3 separate regions of the Homo sapiens genome follow, and all the other regions are linked to region 1. Evidence: promoter capture Hi-C in human tissues and cell types (Jung and others, 2019). All regions are on one chromosome and are shown on one strand. Each heading gives the region's core, a stretch centred on a gene start or on the middle of the fragment in contact. The rest is flanking DNA. Distances are from core to core; before and after follow the strand shown.

The links. Contacts are between HindIII fragments. The study calls those that stand out against the background at their distance.
Region 2: a fragment that was not itself captured here is called in contact with the fragment with the promoter of SLC7A10 in region 1 in 2 of the 25 tissues and cell types used here (H1 embryonic stem cells and bladder).
Region 3: a contact is called between a fragment that was not itself captured here and the fragment with the promoter of SLC7A10 in region 1, in 1 of the 25 tissues and cell types used here (spleen).

What each region holds. Positions count from the first base shown.
Region 1 is chr19:33,223,836-33,227,112 of GRCh38, forward strand. It overlaps SLC7A10 (solute carrier family 7 member 10), which reads right to left and starts at 2,015. Exons shown (of 11, transcript NM_019849.3): 1 at 1,718-2,015. The coding sequence starts at 1,868. The HindIII fragment of the contact is 48,714 bases long and covers 1-3,277 here.
Region 2 is chr19:33,362,923-33,366,206 of GRCh38, forward strand. No RefSeq gene overlaps it. Among named protein-coding and RNA genes, the nearest start is that of CEBPG, 9.1 kb to the right of the region's middle. The HindIII fragment of the contact is 9,696 bases long and covers 1-3,284 here.
Region 3 is chr19:33,414,953-33,418,685 of GRCh38, forward strand. All of the region lies in intron 9 of PEPD (peptidase D), which reads right to left. Among named protein-coding and RNA genes, the nearest start is that of CEBPG, 43 kb to the left of the region's middle. RefSeq lists enhancers at 1,383-1,532, 3,439-3,733. The HindIII fragment of the contact is 3,918 bases long and covers 1-3,482 here.

The DNA of each region.
Region 1 (3,277 bases), core at 765-3,264:
TGTCAGGGCAGACCTGGGCTGCATGGGAAACTTACAGAGTCTGTCCTGGAAAAGGAGGGTGATAGTGGAGTTGGCCTTCTCCACTCCCACCACCACCACCTCTACCATCACCACCACCACCACCACCACCACCACCACCACCACCACCACCACCAGGGCCCCTTTCTGGGGAGAAAGGAGCCAGGCAGCCTCCCTGTGGCCTGGGGAGGATGGGATGTGGGGAGGGGATAGAGTAGGAAGACAGGTCAAGGATGCTGGGCTTAGCTGAGGAGCCCAGGCAGAGCTGTGTCTTTCTGCACCTGCCTGGCACTGTAGCTGGTTCTAGGCATGGTCTCAATCCTATGACCCACTCATGGTGTGAGCTTCCCCTTCCCTGGAGGACAGTTCCTGGAGAGGGTGTGGGCCAAGAAAAAGCTCTAACCAGCACCCTGGCCAAATCCCTGGAACCAGCCCTTCCTTCCAGCAGACCGTCCATCAGGCAGGGGCATCCTAGGCCAAGAAGCTCCCAGGGCCAGGTCAGGACCAGGCTCTGGGAGACAGCATTCTAAGGGGAGGGGGTGAGATGGCGGAGTGACCTGGCCAGGGGCTGTGTTCAGGGGCAACTCTGGATGTGAAGAGCTGCTAATGTGGGGGTGGGAGAGGACGAGGTGAAGACCCTGGGTCTGCCCTACTGAGCCCCCAAACTTTCTCCATCTCCAGGGGTCTGAGGGTGGGAAGGCAGTGAAGACACAAGTGGCTCTCACTGGCAGGGGACCGGGAAGACTGGCTGGCGGTAAGGTGAGAACAGTCGAGGCCCCAGTCACTCACCCCCCAAACCACTTCTCCTGTCCCTCCCTGGAGGGGCTCAGAGGCACTCTGTGTAGACAAAGAAACAAGTCAGTATCCATGACTTGGGACAGAGAGTGGAAAAATACCACTGCCATTCCCATGACCTCTGAGCTCTCTGCCTGCCCAGAAACCCCTATGTGGGGGCAGGACATGGACCCATTCTCAGGTGGGGACTTTGGAGTCCAGGGCCTCCAGACCAGGCGAGTGTCCAGTGCCCACCAGGATCCCAGCTCAGGGAGCAGCTGGCCTTCTGCAGGCTGGGTCTGCCCACTGCTGCCCCCAATTGCTGGCTAACCCGCCCCCTCTCCTGGGTCCTGCTGCCAAACCCTGCAGTCATTGCCTGCTCTGAACCTCCGTCCCTTCTGCGCAGGCTGCGCTTGCTCACTCTGCTCATAGGCCCTCCTGCTTTCCAAGAATAAAGTCACTGCACTGCGTGGCACCTGGACCCTGCACACAGTAGGTACTCAGACTGACCCACAGTACAGAACTTGGGGAGCTCAGCCTGCCGCAGCCTGACCAGCCCCTACACTGGTCAAGTTCCTGCGCTAATCGCAGGACTGCAGTCATGGCCATTTCACAGATGAGGAAACTGAGGGTAACTGCCTTGCAAAAGCCCCGCAGCAAAATCGAGTCAGGAGGAAGAGTCCAGCGGTGGAGGGGACCCAAAACTCCCCCAGGTGCAGGCGGCCGGGAGGTGGGAACACGGAGCTTTGGCACCCTGGGCCAGCAGCCCCTGACCTCCCCGCGGTCATAGCGCTCTCTGAGGCCAGACTGCAGGTTCCCCAGGCAGACCCGTCCGAGCGCCCGGAGAGGGGACGCCCCTCGTTCGGAGCGGCTGCGCCCCTCATTCGGCCTCCGCCCGGCGCCCGCCCGCCTGGGTCCCGCTCACCGATGATGATGGTGCAGGCGCTCAGCAGCCCGATCTCCTTCTTGAGCGCCACCCGCTCCGAGGCGCCGGGGACGGTCCCTGGGACTGGGGAGGGCGAGGGCGCAGGCCTGGGGTTCCCGCGCCCGCTCGGCTGCTGCGTGTGGCCGGCCATGTCGCTGTCCCGCCGCGTCCCCGCTCCCTGCGCTGCCCCGTCTGTCCGGCCGGCCGCCCGTCGGTCCGTCGGTCCGTGAGCTCACGGCCCTCGCAGCCGGGACAGCGCCCACAGGCGGGCGCATGCGCTGGCTCCGGGCCCGGGACTGGGGGCCCCGGGCGGCGGGGGCCCGGGAGGGGCGGAAGGAGGGCCGGCCCACAGCCCCCTCCCCCACCTCCCTTAAAGGGAACGCCCCCTCCCCCAGTCCCGGCCTGGGAAGGAAGGAGAGGACTTGGGGCAGATCTAGGAAGGACTTCCCAGTTGGGCGAAGGAAGGGACCCTCCAGTTGCCTGAGTTACATCCATTCTTGGGGCCGGGTTGGGGAGCAGAGCTCCGAGACAAGACAATCCCTGCTCTCAGGGAGGCCGAGGGGGACGGCAAGAATAACAGCTGGCCGCGTGTGGGGATGCAGTGTGTGCTCCCTTTAGTACTCTATGCCTGCACGATGTGTGTGTGTGTGTGTGTGTGTGTGTGTGTGTGTGTGTGTGTGTAGGAGACAGCTCCCAGGGTGAGTCCATTCTACAGGTGGAAGTTGAAGCCCAGAGATCAGTAGCGATCGCCGAGCAAGTGCAGGGCTGAGACCAAACCCTTTCTCGTGCCTCCTGAGGCTCCCAGGCGGACAACCTCAGGAGGGGTGGGGGTTGAGGTCTGGAACTCCTCTGAGGGGTCTGGGTGTCCTATGCACCCTGGATCAAAGGCCTGAGGGTCGAGGTGAAGATCCCGGGGGCTCTCATCCTCATCACGGGGACCCAAGACCTGTGACGAGTCCTGGACACGGCTCGCCCACCCTACCAGGCTCTGGGCCACCTCTGGCCTGAGATCTTCACTACAGGCTCCTCGTCCCAGGTCAGAGTGAGGGCTCAGCGGACTAGAACTCGGGTCTCTGGTGCAGGTCCCGCGCGATCCAGCCCGGCTCAAGAAGGCCAGGCGACCTGGAATGCCCGGGAGACACGGAGAAGGAGGCTGTGGTCGCGGGAGAGGGTCGGGAGTGCGGGGATCCGAGGGAGGCTGCCTCCTCCCGGAAGCCGTCCGGACTGTGCAGCCGAGGCCGGCGGAAAAGATCCAGGGGGGCCGCGTCGGGGCCACCGGGGCGGCGGGCGGGGCGAGCCTGGCACTGTGCGGCCGGCGGCGGAACAGCCTTTGTTTCTTCCTGGCGGCCGCCGCGACGCGCCGTCCCCTGCATGTGGATGAGGCCTCGCCGGGCGCCCCGTCCTTCCCCCCAGTGGCGGCCTCCGGGTTTGCTGGGGCCCTGCCAGGGGTCCGACGGCTGCAGGGTGGACCGGGGTGGGACGGGGCGGGGGCGGGTCCCTGGCAGGGGCGGGTCCCTGGCAGCGGCAGGGCCTGGAGGTGGGAGCGGGGCGGGGCCGGCG
Region 2 (3,284 bases), core at 135-2,634, 140 kb after region 1:
TAGCTGTCCTCTTGGAGGCTTCTCCAGGAAAGGAGGCCATCCAGAATCCCAGAGAAGCTGTTCACTGATGGGATTAACTTACTACGTGTAAGTAAGAAGTGGATCCGAGTGACGCAAGAAGTGGATTGCAGTGGAGGTCATTGTGTGCCTCCCAGATCCCACATTCAGGTTGGAGGGACCCATTTCCCCAGCTGTGTTTTCTAAAGTCTCATAGGTACATAGCACAGTAATATGTATATACAACAGAGTCTTGCCAAGCACAGGGGCTCATGCCTGTAATCCCCATTTGTGGGGCTTAGGTGGGAGGATCACTTGAGCCTAGGAATTCAGGACCAGCTTGGCAACATATTGAGACCCTGTCTTTACAAAAAATTGAAAAATTAGCCAGGCATGGTGGTCCACAACTGTAGTCCCAGCTACTCAGGAGACTGAAACAGGAGTCTCTCTTAACTCTTCAGCCCAGGAGGTCAAAGCTGTAGTAGCAGGCCATGATGGTGTCACTGCACTCCAGCCTGAGTGACAGAGCAAGACCCTGTCTCTAAAGCACACACACACACACACACACACACACACACACACACACACACAGAGAGAGAGAGAGAAAGAGAGACAATCTTCTCTATAAGAACAAAGTATACACACAGGCCAGGACTGAGACTGGAGTTTGGGGAATGGGAAGGATTTGGATATATGGAATTGGGAGGAAATGGCCCACCAGATGGCATATCAGAATGAGGCGGGCATTTCCAGCTTTTCTTGATCATCCTCCACCTCCCTCTCCCTAGAAGGAAGAATCCTCCTCCTTCCCTCTCCCACTTCCCTCTGCCCTAGACACACTCCGATCTCACAAGCCATTCTGGCTGCTGCGACTTTTAGTTTTATCCGTCGTCTAGCTGAGATTAAACTGGAATGTTCCATTTGCTCTTTTGGCTCTCAAGTAGGCTCAGGGCTTCCCACCTATGGGTGCAGTTGGATCTTTTTCACTGTAACAGAACAAATGCTCTGACCTCCACCACAAAGTGTTTCTGAGGGTGCCCGGCCTTAGTGAGTTCCTGGGCACCCCCCATAATGTACCCAGGCCATTCATATTTAAGGCCCCCAAAGTCTCCTGAGGGCTTCAGTGGAGCCTCTGCTTCAGCTCCTTCTTCTTCTTCTTCACAAAGTTGATACCCCTATGCCAAGGGCACGGATTCCTGATTTTTACAAGAATCACTTCCTAGAGGCATCAAAGTGGTTTCTGCATTCACTCCAGTTCCCACTTGGCTGAAGGCACAGGGGATCGTTCACGGAGGTCGGGGGGAAAGTCACTCTCTTTGTAAGGACTACAAAACAGCACTTGTCTCTCCCCAAATCCCAGTTTCTTCTGCACCTCAGTTCCCCCCCAGAAACCTCTGCAAAGGAAAGACAACAACCCCACCTTCCTCTTCCAGCCAAAACCCCAACATTTATGCAAATAGACTGGCGACTCCACCTGCTAAACCCAAGTCAATATGAATCCCAGTTGAGGCTGACACAGGAACTGATTATTACCGTGGGAATCTAAACGAAAAATAAGATGAAAAAGGAGCAGTCACGGCGGCCTAGGAGTGGACGCAGATTCCTGACGCTAAGCACAGGGATTCTAGGCCACAAGCCCACCTGGCCTGGCTGTGTCTCCTTGGCCCTGTCTCATCTGTTGGGCACCAGCTCCCCCCTGCCCCCTTCTCCAGCCCCTTGGCTTGGTCCTCACAGGACTCCCAGAACTTGGGACAGGGCCTGGCTCAGAGCAGGAATTCAATCAACATCTATTGACTGAGACAGATGAAAGAGAATAGGAGAATGAGTGCCAGGGACAACCATGTCCCTCTGTCTGGGAAGCTTCTCATTTCCTTCTCAGCTCAGTCTTGTGGCTTCCAGGGGTTGACCTGGTGTTTGGACCTTCAGCGGAGGATGGGGCTTCCCCACTAGACCCAAAAATGGTGTCCTGGGCTTCTCCGTCACCCTGCAGTCTCAAAGTGGACCCCTCCACCTCCCCTTCCTTCTTTCTATCCCTCTCTCCTCCTGGAGGAGCTCCTGTAGATCTACTCTCCCTCTCTGCTCCATTTCTCTGCATGATTTGGGTTTGCCTGGCAGAAGCACAGTCACCGCTCGTGGACTGAGGGAGGGAGTGGGGCCTGAGGCTCTTCTGCTGCTTTCTTCTTTACCCATTTGGCTAAAATCTGGCCTGGGTTGTTAATGTTTTAAAACAGTACTGTTTTAGGTTAATGTTAAGACTGCAATGCATCCCAAATACTTAAAAAAATTTCTCAGAACTATTTTATTTTTAATTAATTATTGTAAGAGATAGGGTCTCGGTCTGTTGCCCAGGTTGGAGTGGGATGGCACTATCGCAGCTCACTGTAGCCTCGACCTTCTAGGCTCAAGCCACCCTCCCGCCTCAGTCTTCCAAGTAGCTGGGACCACAGGCACACGCCCATGCTCGGCTAATTTTTAATTTTTTTTTGTAGAGATGGGGCCTCACTATGTTGGCCAGGCTGGTCTCAAACTTGACCTCAAGCAATCCTCCCACCTCAGCCTCCCAAAGTGCTAGGATTACAGGCACTGTGCATGACTCAAAACAACTTAAGATTTATAAAAAATTGAGAAGGAGGTATAGATTTCCCAGTTTCACCTATTACTAACACCTTACATTCATATATTTGTTATAGTTAACGAAGATATATTGATACATTATCATTAATTGAAGTCCATTATTAAATATTGCCCGTACTTCAAATCTGGATTTCCTTAGTTTCTAATATCCTCTTTCTGTTTCAGGATCCCATCTAGGATACCACATCACATTTAGTCATCATGTCTCTTTAGGATCCTCTAGACCAGGTGTCCCTATTTCCTGAGCCACAGACCCATTAGCAACCGGGCTGCCCAGCAGGAGATGAGTGGCAGGTGAGCAAAAGTTACTGCCTGAACTCTGCCTCCTGTCTTATCAGCAGCGGCATTAGACTCGCACAGGAGCACAAACCCTATCGTGAACTGTGCATACAAGGGATCCAGGTTGCACGCTCCTTATAAGACTCTAATGCCTGATGATCTGAGGTAGGACAGTTGCATCCCGAAATGATCTCTCCTCCCCTCCTGCTCCCTATCTGTGGAAAAACTGTCGTCCATGAAATTGGTCCCTCTTGCCAAAAAGATTGGGGACTGCTGCTCTAGACTGTGATACTTTGTCTGACTTTCCTTGTTTTGATGATCTTGACGGTTTTGCGAAGTCTTAGGTAGGTATTTTACAAAATGCTGCTCTATTG
Region 3 (3,733 bases), core at 274-2,773, 190 kb after region 1:
AGGCCGCTTCCACCTCGCTCCTGGGAGTCTCAGCGCTGAGTTTCGCCACAGTCCAGGCACGTTCCTACCAAGGCAGGCAAGGGCAGTGCCCCACATGGCAAGCCCTGTGCGCCAGGCCAGACAGGCAGCCTCAGAAGCCACTTCACACCTCTGTGGCGCCCTCCCAGAAAGCCCGAGAAGAGGCCTGACCCACGCCGTGGAACAGGGGTGCTCCCTTGGCTTTGTGAGATGTGGTCCTGCACCAACAGAAGCGAACCTCAGAGGTCACATGGTCATTCTCGACGTGATGGCGACAGCGGACCTCTGTGGGACAAGTGACCTGCAGACAACCACGGGCTGCGCTGGGACTGGCCGGCTTCAGAAAAGACAGGCAGAGGGACAGAGATGCCATCCGCATGTGCAGAGGAACTCACATATTCTACAAGAAAGGAGCGGCAGGCCGGGCGCAGTGGCTCACACTTGTCATCCCAGCACTTTGGGAGGCCAAGGTTGGAGGACTGCTTGAGGCCGGGAGTTCAAGACCAGCCTGGGCAACACAGCAAGACCCCAGCTCTCAAAAAATCAATCAATCAATCAATACAAGAAAAAAACATCAGAAAGGGGAGGCAGTGAGGAAACTTGGCTCTCTCGCCTGCAGCAAGCTTCCCCCTGCATAACCCACTCAGTGGAGACAACTGTCTTTGAATGCCTTTGCTGCTTTTTAAGAAAAAAATAGTGCCTTCAAGAAGGCACAGCTCACAGAAGCATCAAACTAAAGAAAGGCTGACCCAGTTTTCACCTGCAAAGTGCAGCCCGACACTGGTCACCTTTGCCGGCCACGTTGACAACTCCACACACTGTTCCATAGGAAGGAGTTGAAAAGAGGAGGAGCACCACGTGCTGGATATTCACGCCCGCCTAAAAAAAGCTGAAATGCTTCACAGTGGACTTCAGTCCTGAATTTTGTTTTAAATGACCTTTTCTGACGCAACTTGAGGACACACTGGTGCTTTGGTGGCAATAACAGGTGGGCAAAACGAGCCCACGTTTTCTGCAGACTTTAGGCTTGGGGTGTGGACGCACAAGGGCACCCAAGTTCTGGGCAGCTGTGGCGGCACAGGGGGCCTGTGGAAGCGTGTGAGCCCGGCGCGGCACAGTTCTGATCTTCAAGCGGTGAGCACTGAGGGGTGGACATTCCAAACTGGGGCCCATGCTTGATGCGGACGCAACGTGTGCCCCCGCACAGCTGGGCCAGAGCTTGGCGAGTGGTGCTGGGATGACCAGGAGCAAGTGTGGGCTATGAGGACAGGCTAACAGCCTGTCCCGTGGATGACCGACATGCCATGGCAGTGGCAGCATCACAACTCCTCCAAGTGCGAGGCAGGAGGGGTCCAGCCAAGTCATCCCTGGAGCAGGCTAGCTACTACCCACCCAAAATAATTAACACCTGGAACAGGCTCTCCAGCAGAGGGCAGCAGCCAGCAAGACAGGCAGGAGTGTCACCGCCCCACTGCGACCATCTCCATAGGCTCCTTCCATAAATTTATGACTCACATCGTGCAGCCCCGGACCAGCTGGGTCTAACAGCCCCTGCTCCCTCCTGCTCACCTGGAAGGCGGATGGGGTGGTACACACACCCCAGCCAGGCTCAAGCCCAGCGCGCACCTCCTCCCCAGCAGCAGGGAGGGGCTTCCTGATTGGCTGAGAGGAGGCCGTGGTCTGCCTAAGTCCCAGCCAACGACATCCCGGCTGCTGTGTGGGCCCCGTTGTTTTTCCTTATGTGGCCATTCCTCTAACACCCTCACCTATAAATTTCTCCCAGGCAAGACTCGGGTAGAAGAGGCTTGTATCCAGGCATAAGTGAGAGAGCCCTTAAGCAACCTGGGGGAACTGCATGAGTGGTGAATAACGAGGTGGATGGAGTTACTGCAGTGTCAGTGGGGCAGGCACATCTGTCAGTGCCAGGAGATGACAAATGGGGCAGGAGCAGCAAGTTCCCAGACCCAGATCTGCAGGAATGGGGTCCCCAGAGACGGCGTCGCTGGGCCTCCCACTGGGACCCACAAATCCAGCCCGTGGAGCGCTCCCGGGCACACGGCCCAGCTCCTGCCCTCAGAAGTTTATCACCTAACATGAAGACGAGTCACAGTCCTATAAAAATGCTGCAGCTGCCCAGACAGCGGTAGAAGGGCTGCCTGGCAGCAAGTGTCGGCCAAGCTATGTGCCTCGAGCATGGGTGGGGTAGCGCCGAAGAGGTTAGTGAGGCAGTGTAAGGGGTGGCCCTGGCCACATCATTCCCTTTCCCCGGCTGGGCCTCAATGGATCTCAGGTACTCAAGAGGTGGAGAGGGGAGGCTGGGCCGGAAACAGAAGCTTGGGAGTGAAAATGCGCAGAGCTGGTGGAGCCCCCTCAGCTGGGCAGAGGGCTTAGGAAAGCAGGTAGTTGGGACATGGGGTTACAAACCTGAGGTGGGGAGGGTGTGTTCCGCACCCCGGTCCCTGTGCTGGGCTCCCTGCTCTGGGCCCCACATACCCAGCCTTCTGGGACTCAACACCAACCTCAAGGGCAAATCTTGGCTCTGCTGCTGGCCAGCTGAATGGCCTCTCCGTGCCTCAGTTTCCTCATCTGTAAAATGGGGATGATAGCGGTGCCTCCCTCCCAGGGCTGCTATGCCAGTCGAATGATTTAACATACATGGAGTATACACAATGGTGCCTGGTACCCAAGGAGCTCTGTGTACAGTGACCTAGCCATCGTGGTCACTGTTCAGAGGCCTGGAGGGAGGCTGGAGAATGGGGATCCCTCCTCAGGCAGCAGGAGAGGAGGTCGTGGGCATCCTGTGCCAGGCTTTGAGAAACAGCCTCTTGACTATTCCTTTAAAACCAAACAGAATCTGCATAGGTCCACGGCCCGGACACCCACTCCCGCACCCTCCAGGCAGCCAAGTTCTCTACAGAAGTCCTTCCTGGGCCCACACACTCCCAGCATCTCCAGGATGTTCACCAGCAAAAACGCGGAGGTGTGTCCTCTGCACCAGCTACCGGGACACGTGCGCACAGACAGGCTTCTGGCTGGACAGAGGGGGCCTGTGCCCACCATCCCTTCACAGCTGCCCCTCGCCCTCACGGAGCTGACCCAGGGTCCCCGCCTTCCCGGGGTGCGCCCAGGACTGGGGCACATAAGAGGGAGAGAGCCACAGAGAGTGAGAAGTACCTCATGATGTTTGGGGCCAAGCAGTTGTGCTGTGTATAGTCGTCTCAGCACTAAGTTGCTTATAATTCACATTTATTTTAAGTAATTGCTGCGATATTTTCTGGGTACACATGACCATAATTGTGTCATTAACGTGATACACCACTTACTAAGGGAAAATCCTTTTCAGAGTAAGGGCCATACAGTCCTGCAGGGGATGCCCTGAGACACCTCAGGCCGAGCAGAGCGTGCCTTATGGTCCCCAAAGTGGGAGCAGCTACTATGGAGGACTTGGAGCCAAAACCGGATGTTTCTACCAGTGGAGCCCTGGCATAGCTCCTTTTGCATGGAACCAGAAGCACGTACTACATTCTTCTTGAATTCCCATGGAAGGAGGGGAGCTGCTCCACGCCCTTCTTCTGGGGTGACCAGTGGGTCATCAGAAGGCACAGGCGAAGGCGCCCAAGCCCTACCCTTGGAATCGCCGCCTGGGTGGCACCAGCGACCTATCCAGGACCCCAACTCCCAGGCAGGTCCTGGCTCTTTTAGCACTGTTCCCCGT